Linked DNA regions of Homo sapiens: regions 1 and 2 are each linked to region 3. Evidence: promoter capture Hi-C in 16 types of primary human blood cells and fetal thymus (Javierre and others, 2016). All regions are on one chromosome and are shown on one strand. Each heading gives the region's core, a stretch centred on a gene start or on the middle of the fragment in contact. The rest is flanking DNA. Distances are from core to core; before and after follow the strand shown.

Region 1 (2,944 bases), core at 414-2,913, 1.0 Mb before region 3:
TTGAACTCCTGACTTCAGGTAATTCACCCTCCTCAGTCTCCCAAAGCTCTGAGATTACAGGCGTGAGCCACCGCGCCTCGCCAGCTGCACCATTTTACATTCCTGCCCGCAGTGTATGATAATTCCAATTTCTCTACATCTTTTCCAACACTTTTTATTGTCTGATTTTTTTTATTATAGCCATCCTGTGAATGTGAAGTATTATCTCATTGTAGTTTAATTTGCATTTCCCTGATGATAAATGATGGTAATATATTTTTGCCTGTTGGTCATTTGTGTATCTTCTTTGGAGAAAGTTCTCTTCAGAAACTTTGCCCATTTTTAAGTTGAATTGTCTTTTTATTACTTAGTTGTAAGAGTTTTTAAAATATATTTTAGACACAAGTGCCTTACTGATATATTATTTGTAAATATTTTCTCCCATTCTGTGTGTTGTCTTTACACTTTCTTGATGGTATCCTTTTAATCATGAATATTAATTTTGACAAAGCCCAAACAATCTCCTTTTCTGTTTGTTGCTGTGCTTTTGGTATCATAATTAAGGAATCATTTTAAAATAAAAATCACAGTGGTTTGCCTTCTAAGATTAAAGTTTTATTTCTCACAGTTAGGTCTGTGATCCATTTTGAGTTCATGTTTATATGTAATGTGAGGCAAGGGTCCAGATTCATTCTTTTGCATGTGGACTTCCAGTTGTCCCAGCACTATTCGTTGAAAAGAATACTCTTTCCCCATTGAATTTTCTAGGCACTCATCTTGAAAATCAATTGACCATGCATGTGAGAGTTTATTTCTGGACCCTCAATTCCATTCCACTGATCTGTCTGTCCGTCCTCATATAGACAGTACCACATGTTCTTGATCACTGCAGAATTGTAGTTAGCTCTAAAATCAGAGAATGTGAGTCCTCCAATGTCGTTCTTCTTTTTCAAGATTGTGTTGGCTGTTCTCAGTCCCTTACACTTCCTTAAGAATTTTAGTATCAGCTTGTCAATATCTGCAAAAAGACATCTGAGATTTTAATAGGGAATGTGTTCAATCTGTAGATCAGTTTAGGGAATATTGCTATCTGAGTAATATTAACTCTTCTAATCCATGAACATGGGATATTCTTCTATTTATTTAGACCTTCAATTTCTTCCAACAATGATTTTTAGATTTTTAGTCTTTTGGATATAAGGTTTGCTTTTTTTTTTTTTTTTTTTTTTTTTTTTTTTTTTTTTTTTTTTTGAGACAGTGTCTTACTCTGTCTCCCAGGCTGGAGTGCAGTGGTGCCATCTCGGCTCATGGCAACCTCTGCCTCCTGGGTTCAAGCGATCCTCCCACCTCAGCTTCCTGAGTAGCTGGGACTACAGGTGTGTGCTACCACACCTTGCTAATTTTTGTCTTTTTAGTAGAGACAGAGTTTTGCCATGTTGGCCAGGCTGGTCTCGAACTCCTGGCCTCAAGTGATCCACCCACCTCAGCCTCCCAAAGTGCTGGGATTACAGGCGTGAGCCACCTTGCCCAACCTACTTCTTTCATTTATTTTTGAGTATTTTATTCCTTTTTACACTATTGAAATGGAATTGTTTTCTCAATTTTATTTTCATTGTTCAATGCTAGTATATGGAAATACAATTGATTTTTGTATATTGATTTTGTACTCTGAAACTTTGCTGAACTTGTTTGTTCTAATAAATTTTTAGTGGATTCCTTAGGATTATCTGTATACAAGGTCATTACATATGTTTCTTCTTTGTTTCCAATCTGGATACCTTTTATTTCTTTTTCTTACCTAATTGCCCTGGCTAGAACTCAAATACAATGTTGAATAGGAGTGGCAAAAGTGGACATCCCTCTCCTGTTCCTGGTCTTAAGGGGAAAGCAGTCTTTCACTATTACGTATGATGTTAGCTGTGGGGTTTTCATAGATATCTTTTAAAGGGTTGAGAAAGTTCCTTCCTATCCCTAGTTTTTTTTTTTTTTTTTTAGCATTTTTATCATAAAAGGATGTTGAATTTTGTCAAATGCTTCTTCAGTAGAAATAACAGTGTAATTTCCTAACAATCTCTCCAGTGTTTTGCTTGGAGTAAAAAGTCTTGGGGCCACTTCACTAATTTTAGCATTAGCCCCAAGCAAGGAACACCTAAGATCTGCCAAGTCACTGGCTTTGGGACATCTAAGAGCAGAGGAGCACCCCTTTCCCACACACCTTTTACTCCAGCTGGCCTTCCACTTAGACCCCAGTTGAACTGTCCTATTCAAGGGCTGATTCCTATGACCATGGATAATCAAGTCCTGGGAGATCAAGAGTTGAATTTTCATGGCAATCAGATCAGATTCTTTCTTTGCCTTTTGGGGGATGGTTTTTTCTCATCTTGACCATAATTTTCCTCTAATTTCTACTCATGGGCATTTGAACTTGGGCATAAGACATACATATACTGAACTCAATTGTTTTGTAAGTGTTTCACAGGTTTTTATTTTGCCTAGGTAGTCAAGGAGTAATTTTTTTTTTCTTTGAGACAGGGTCTCACTCTGTCTCCCTGGCTGGAGTGCAATGGCTCAATCTCAGCTCACTGCAACCTCCACCTACTGGGCTTAAGTGATCCTCCCCACTTAGCCTCCTAAGTAGCTAGGACCACAGGTGCACACCACCACACCTGGCAATATTTTTGTATTTTTTTGTAGAAATGGGGTTTCACCCATCACTCTGAGCAAACTATCACAAGGACAGAAAACCAAACACCGCATGTTCTCACTCATAGGTGGGAATTGAACAATGGGAACACTTGGACACAGGAAGGGGAACATCACACACTGGGGCCTGTCGTGGAGTGGGGGGAGTGGGGAGGGATAGCATTAGGAGATATACCTAATGTAAACGATGAGTTAATGGGTGCAGCACACCAACATGGCACATGTATACATATGTAACAAAGCTGCATGTTGTGCACATGTA
Region 2 (2,700 bases), core at 154-2,653, 1.1 Mb before region 3:
TGAGCAAGGATGGAGCAATGTAACAGTTTGGTTATATTGTTTTGTACTGTGAGGTTCATGGGAGAAGGATCCTTATCTGGTCAAGTCACCTCTGTGTCCCACACTTAGAACAGTGTTGCTTCACCCATAGTTATTCAATAAATAGCTGTTGAAAGATTGAATTTTCCTGAGATTCAGTCGTATCACAGGTCAAAATGTATTTTCTGAATTTCATGCAGTAAAAACCATCACAGAGCCTATAACATTGATGATGATGATGATGATGTTGATACATGTAGTGGGGATAACATGCTCACTAAACATTCTACCTGCCTCTTACATTTCCCGGGTGCTCAGTAGACTAGTTCTGCATGGTGAGACATGTTGGAAGCCAGGTTTGTCACTTCTGGGTGGTGGCAATGAGAAGCCTGGGTAGGTTTCTCTGGGCTCTCTTCCCCTTCTGCTGTATGGGTAGGTCTCTTGGTATAGCTACGAAGTGGTGGTTCCTTGAGGCCATGTGAAGCACAGCTCTCTTCTACCCCTCACCCTATTGACCCATGGTGGGGGCATAGCTTGACTGAGAAATTCAGTTCATTGAGTAAAGCCACTGGGAGTTGGGGGTCCACACGTCACTGCATCATACTTAGCCTATCCTGACTAATGCAACAGCTAACACCTTGTGAGTTCTTACTGCATGCCAGGACCTTTGCATATATTATCTCATTTACTCTTTGTAGTACCCTATAATGTAAATAAGATTGTTATTCTCATCTTGCAGATAAAGAAACTGAGAGGCAGAAAGGTTGAACAATGTGCCCAAAGTCACCCAGTTAGAAAGTGGGAATTGACTTGAATCCAGGCAGTGTAACTGCAGAGCCCACGCTTTTAATCACATATTTTAAGGAACATTCTACTTTATGGATTAAAGTTTTTCATGATAAAGATAAACATAAAATCCTTTGCCATTAAGAAGTCTCTCCCTCATGTTTATCTTAAGAATATCTTTGGGTTAAAAGCAATTTTAAGAGATGCTGTTCCTGACTTGTTTCTCTTTGTCTTCTAATAAGCTCTAATTGAATGATGTTGCAAGCAGGTCTGCTCTCTGGAGCCAGTCTGCTGTCATGCCAACTAATTTAGAAATGTATGGATCTTACTGTTTCAAACCTGAGGCCATATTGATTCTGGAATATGCCCCACTAATTGCTGACAGCCTGATGCTAAGAAAAAAATAGAAGAAAAAAGCTTTCATGTCAATATTTGTTACTAACCTTGATAAATAAACATTATAAGTGATGGTGACTTTTTCCTCTTCTAAAGCTTTAATTACTGGCTTGCACACACTGCCATCATTTTGTTCTTGTTGGTGTTTAATAGTCTGTAATCCATTTTAATTACATTCTTTGCTTATCAAGATCAGACTCCAGAGCGAGGATAGAACAAAATTTAACTTCTGCCTTTTCCCCCCGTCTCTATCCAGTACCTTAAAAATATTCTGGGATTTAAAAACATCTTAAAGATAAAAATTTATCTTTAAGCTTAAAGCAAACAAGCAAACCATTAAAAGGAAGTTTCTTGCTACTTTTGCCAATTTATCAGTCCATTGACAAAAGCAACTGGACACACCTGCTTCCTCTATTAACCTTAGAATCTGAAGCTTGCAGAGAATTTTGAGAGAGTAGGGGTGGCATGGGGAGGAGAGGACTTCTAGGGTGAGGAAAATGTTCTCTTTCTTGACCTGGGGTGGTGAGTACAGAGTGCTTTGTTTTGTAATAATTCCTTGATCTTGTGCATTTATGTTGTGTGCACCTTTCCACATATGTGATACATGTCTATAAAAATGTTACTTAAAGCACTGAACGTGGCTAGGTTTCCAGGGTTTTTCAGTGGTTTTGTTAAGGGTAGTCATTTGAAGGTAGCCAAGCTCTTTTTTTGTTGCCACTTCTGATGATTATACTATTTTCATTTTTTATATCTGTATTTACAAGAGTAAGAATTATAAGGAAAAATGACTGTCATGCAGAAAAACACTACCACAAACGAAAAAATACTCTTTCGCTTACCTAACAGTCCCAGGTGGAAGCTCCTGGTCAGTGAGAGCCCTTCCACACAGTGATTCAGGGATCAAGCCTCAGATTGCAAGGCAGAATTGACAGCCTCAGCCTACTCAAAGGGAGATCTAGAGTAAAGATTATCCACTGGAGCAGTCCTGCACTGGGCAGAGATGGCCGGCTCCACTATCCCGCCATGCTCGGTCATTGCCTGAGGGGTGCCCTAGAAGAGGGCTTCAGCTCTAAAGCTACTTGTAGTCCTTGAAGCTGAATGGCAGTTATTTCTTGAAAGGTGATATGAGTGGTACACCTTCATGACTGTCACAAATGCTCTATAATGGAAGGGGAAGCACCTTTTTTTTTGGTGATCAGGAAGCCTCTTTGCCATAGTGGTAGCGGGCAGATTTGAACTTGACTCCAGAACCATGCTGGCGTGACTTCCCCCAGGTGCTGACCTGCCTTTCACTGCCCTTGAAATGTCCCACTGCCTCATTGTCTGTGGCCCATTAGGGGACTTTTTAATTTTACTCCCCAGCATTTATTCCTTTTTTTTTTAATGAAAGCCTCCATTTTTGTATGGAAAGCCCACCCCCACCCCACCCCAATTCTTAGTCCATGTGGTTTGGTTGGCCACCTTATCTCCACTGATCCAGCTCTATGGTTATTCCTATCC
Region 3 (2,726 bases), core at 12-2,511:
CGCCGCAGCTGGCAGCCGCACGGCTCTACCTGTTGCAGCGTCGGAGCGCGCCCGCCTGAGAAGGCAGAGCGCGGTGCGGACCTGTGCTCCGCGCGCCGGCTGGCAGGGCAGGGCCGCGGCTGCCAGGAGGCCCGGGAACAGTCCCGACGGAGCGGCGCGGAGAGGGCGCTCCCCGGAAGGTGAGATCTGAGCGCGGCAGCGGCGCCAGCGCCCGCTACAAGGCGGGGTCTCGGGGAGGGGGCCCCGGCGGTTTGCTGGAGAGCCTTGCTACTGTTCTGCATGAGGTGGGGGATGCCTTCTGCGCGGACCCCGCGTCCAGGCAAAACTCTGGAACGCACTAGGCAGCCAAGCCCGGGGGGAAGAGATGGAACGCTCCAAGGTCAAGGTCTCCTGGCCGCGGAGCCCTTCCAGCCCCCAGTGTTTGGCCTCCTCTCCGGAAGCGGGGCTGGCTCGCGGTGCGCGCTTGGTCCGGGCGGAGCCTACTAGTAGGCGCAGAGGACGCCCCCGCGCAGGATCCAGAGACCAAGGGCGCTCTGGCATGGTCAAGGCGAGGGAGGCTGCCCGGGGGAGAAGCCCCTAACTTCCTTTGCTCCCTGTTCCAACCTCCCTTTCTGGTCTCCTCTCTCCAGCCCGTCCGCCCAACGGATGCGCAGCGTTGGGGCCCGGCCGGAGGTCGGAGCCCTCGGACGCCGCAGCCCTCGGACGCCGCTCAGCACAGCCCCTCTCTCCGTGCGCCCGCCCTGGACCCCCTCCATCCCTAAGCCCCGGCAGCCGATTCGGAGACTCGGGAGGCCACAGGCTCAGCGCGACACCACGACCACAACTAGGAGGCACCATCGTCGATCTACCTGGGGAGGCACCTACAAAGCCAGCAGACTGACACCCGTGTCCTAGCCGTCGGCGGCCTGCGAAGCGATAGTCAAAGGAACCAGGACCCAGGACCCCGGCGCTCTGCTTACCCGCAGACCTCCGGACCGCGCCCCCCCCCCGCCGCCCCGCCCCGCCCCGCCCCGCCCCGCGACCGTCTCTTTGCGGGAAACTCGAGTTGGCTCGAGCTTGCCCTGAAGACGCGCCACGCCCCCTCCCCTATCTGAGCCGGACAGGGAGCCGGGGTGGAAACTGCGCCCGCATCCCAGCGCCAAGCAGACGTGAACTCTGCGCCCGTTCCCCGGGACCTTCAGCGTTAAGGAGAACTCCGAGGAGAGCAGGGGGAGTGGAGGGGAACGGCGGCGACAAAGCGGATTTGAAACTAGGAGTCAAGGAGGACGTGGGGAGCTGGCGCCACAGGAGCTACCGAGGCGGCGGCCGGGGGAGCCTCGCGGCCTGCGGGAGAGCCCGGCGGTCATGGGCGAGCCGGCGGTGGGGCGCCCGGGAGCTGGCTGAGCGCCGGGGCCCTTATTTCCCGGGGGTGTGGGCGAGACTCCGCCGACGCCCGGTGCCGTGGGCCTGGGGGCTGCCCCCGGGGGCCCGGCCATGGCTGGCCGGGGTTTCAGCTGGGGCCCGGGCCACCTGAACGAGGACAACGCGCGCTTTCTGCTGCTGGCCGCGCTCATCGTGCTCTACCTGCTGGGCGGCGCCGCCGTCTTCTCCGCGCTGGAGCTGGCGCACGAGCGCCAGGCCAAGCAGCGCTGGGAGGAGCGCCTGGCCAACTTCAGCCGCGGCCACAACCTGAGCCGCGACGAGCTGCGCGGCTTCCTCCGCCACTACGAGGAGGCCACTCGGGCCGGCATCCGCGTGGACAACGTCCGCCCGCGCTGGGACTTCACCGGCGCCTTCTACTTCGTGGGCACCGTCGTTTCCACCATAGGTAAGTGTGCTGGCCGGACTCGCTGACAACCTCCGGGCGGCCTCCACTTCCTCCGGGGGGCAGGACCGACCCTCTCATCCTTTCATTCATCCATCTGGGCGCCCAGCCAGACTCCACTGACATGAGCTGTCGCCTGATCAACAGGTGGTATTGCCTCCCCGCTGCTCTAATGTGGTCCAGGCACCGGCAGCTTCAGCGTCACCTGGCAGCTTGTTAGAAATGCAGTCTCAGTCCCCTCTGCAGACCTGCCGAGTCAGAATCTGCATGTTAACAAAGTCCCCAAAGGATTGGAATGATCCTTAAATTGGAGACGCTCTGCTCTGGGAGATTTTCAGTCTAATGAAGGAGACACGGCTTGAGTTCATGGGGAAGAAGGCTTTTACAGATAGGGACAGGAAACTAAACATTTACTGAGTCAGTCAGAGGGGAAGTGCAGATTTTAAAAGATTCTGCCCTCGACTTCACACTTACCGAGAAAAAATCAGAACAGCAGACTGAAAGTGAGGAAGCAAAAGTGCCAATGACGGTTCAAAAGATGGAAAATTTTCCACCAGGAAGAACCAGGGAAGTGACCTTTGGGCTGAATCAATTCGTGTTAGGCATAACTTGGGTTTGGGAACTGAAAGCGCGGTTGCACTCTAGAGTAGGAGAGAATCGCACTCAGGGGCCCCATGAGCTGGTTGGAGTGGTGGAAGGAAGACTAGGAAGGTCTGCTGGCTAATGGGATGGAGGCGGGGGTAGGACCTTCACTGACAGACTGAGGAGCTGGAATTTACCTAGAGGCACCTGGGAGCCATTGAGAATTTTTTAGCAAAGATGTAGCACAGCTACAATCAGCTGTGTTTATTTCCCAGCAGAAGGAAAATGATTTGGGGGAGTCTGCGCCACACCCCTAAAGATTGTTCATCCTTGAAGAATA

What was found. Contacts are between HindIII fragments. The CHiCAGO score rates a contact against its expected background, and 5 or more counts as called.
Region 1: a fragment that was not itself captured here is called in contact with the fragment with the promoter of KCNK13 in region 3 in 1 of 17 cell types (naive CD8 T cells); the score reaches 6.2 in naive CD8 T cells.
Region 2: a fragment that was not itself captured here is called in contact with the fragment with the promoter of KCNK13 in region 3 in 5 of 17 cell types (non-activated CD4 T cells, total B cells, total CD8 T cells and 2 more); the score reaches 7.5 in non-activated CD4 T cells.

The regions. Positions count from the first base shown.
Region 1 is chr14:89,018,921-89,021,864 of GRCh38, forward strand. The region is part of intron 1 of LOC124903356 (a long non-coding RNA gene); the gene reads left to right. Among named protein-coding and RNA genes, the nearest start is that of TRA-AGC15-1, 41 kb to the left of the region's middle. The HindIII fragment of the contact is 4,022 bases long and covers 1-2,944 here.
Region 2 is chr14:88,997,178-88,999,877 of GRCh38, forward strand. No RefSeq gene overlaps it. Among named protein-coding and RNA genes, the nearest start is that of TRA-AGC15-1, 19 kb to the left of the region's middle. The HindIII fragment of the contact is 218 bases long and covers 1,295-1,512 here.
Region 3 is chr14:90,060,733-90,063,458 of GRCh38, forward strand. KCNK13 (potassium two pore domain channel subfamily K member 13) reads left to right here and starts at 1,262. Exons shown (of 2, transcript NM_022054.4): 1 at 1,262-1,807. The coding sequence starts at 1,474. LOC124903406 reads left to right here. Exons shown (of 3, transcript XM_047432048.1): 2 at 1-179; 3 at 630-1,001. The coding sequence ends at 894. RefSeq lists enhancers at 203-704, 705-1,204. The HindIII fragment of the contact is 16,748 bases long and covers 1-2,726 here.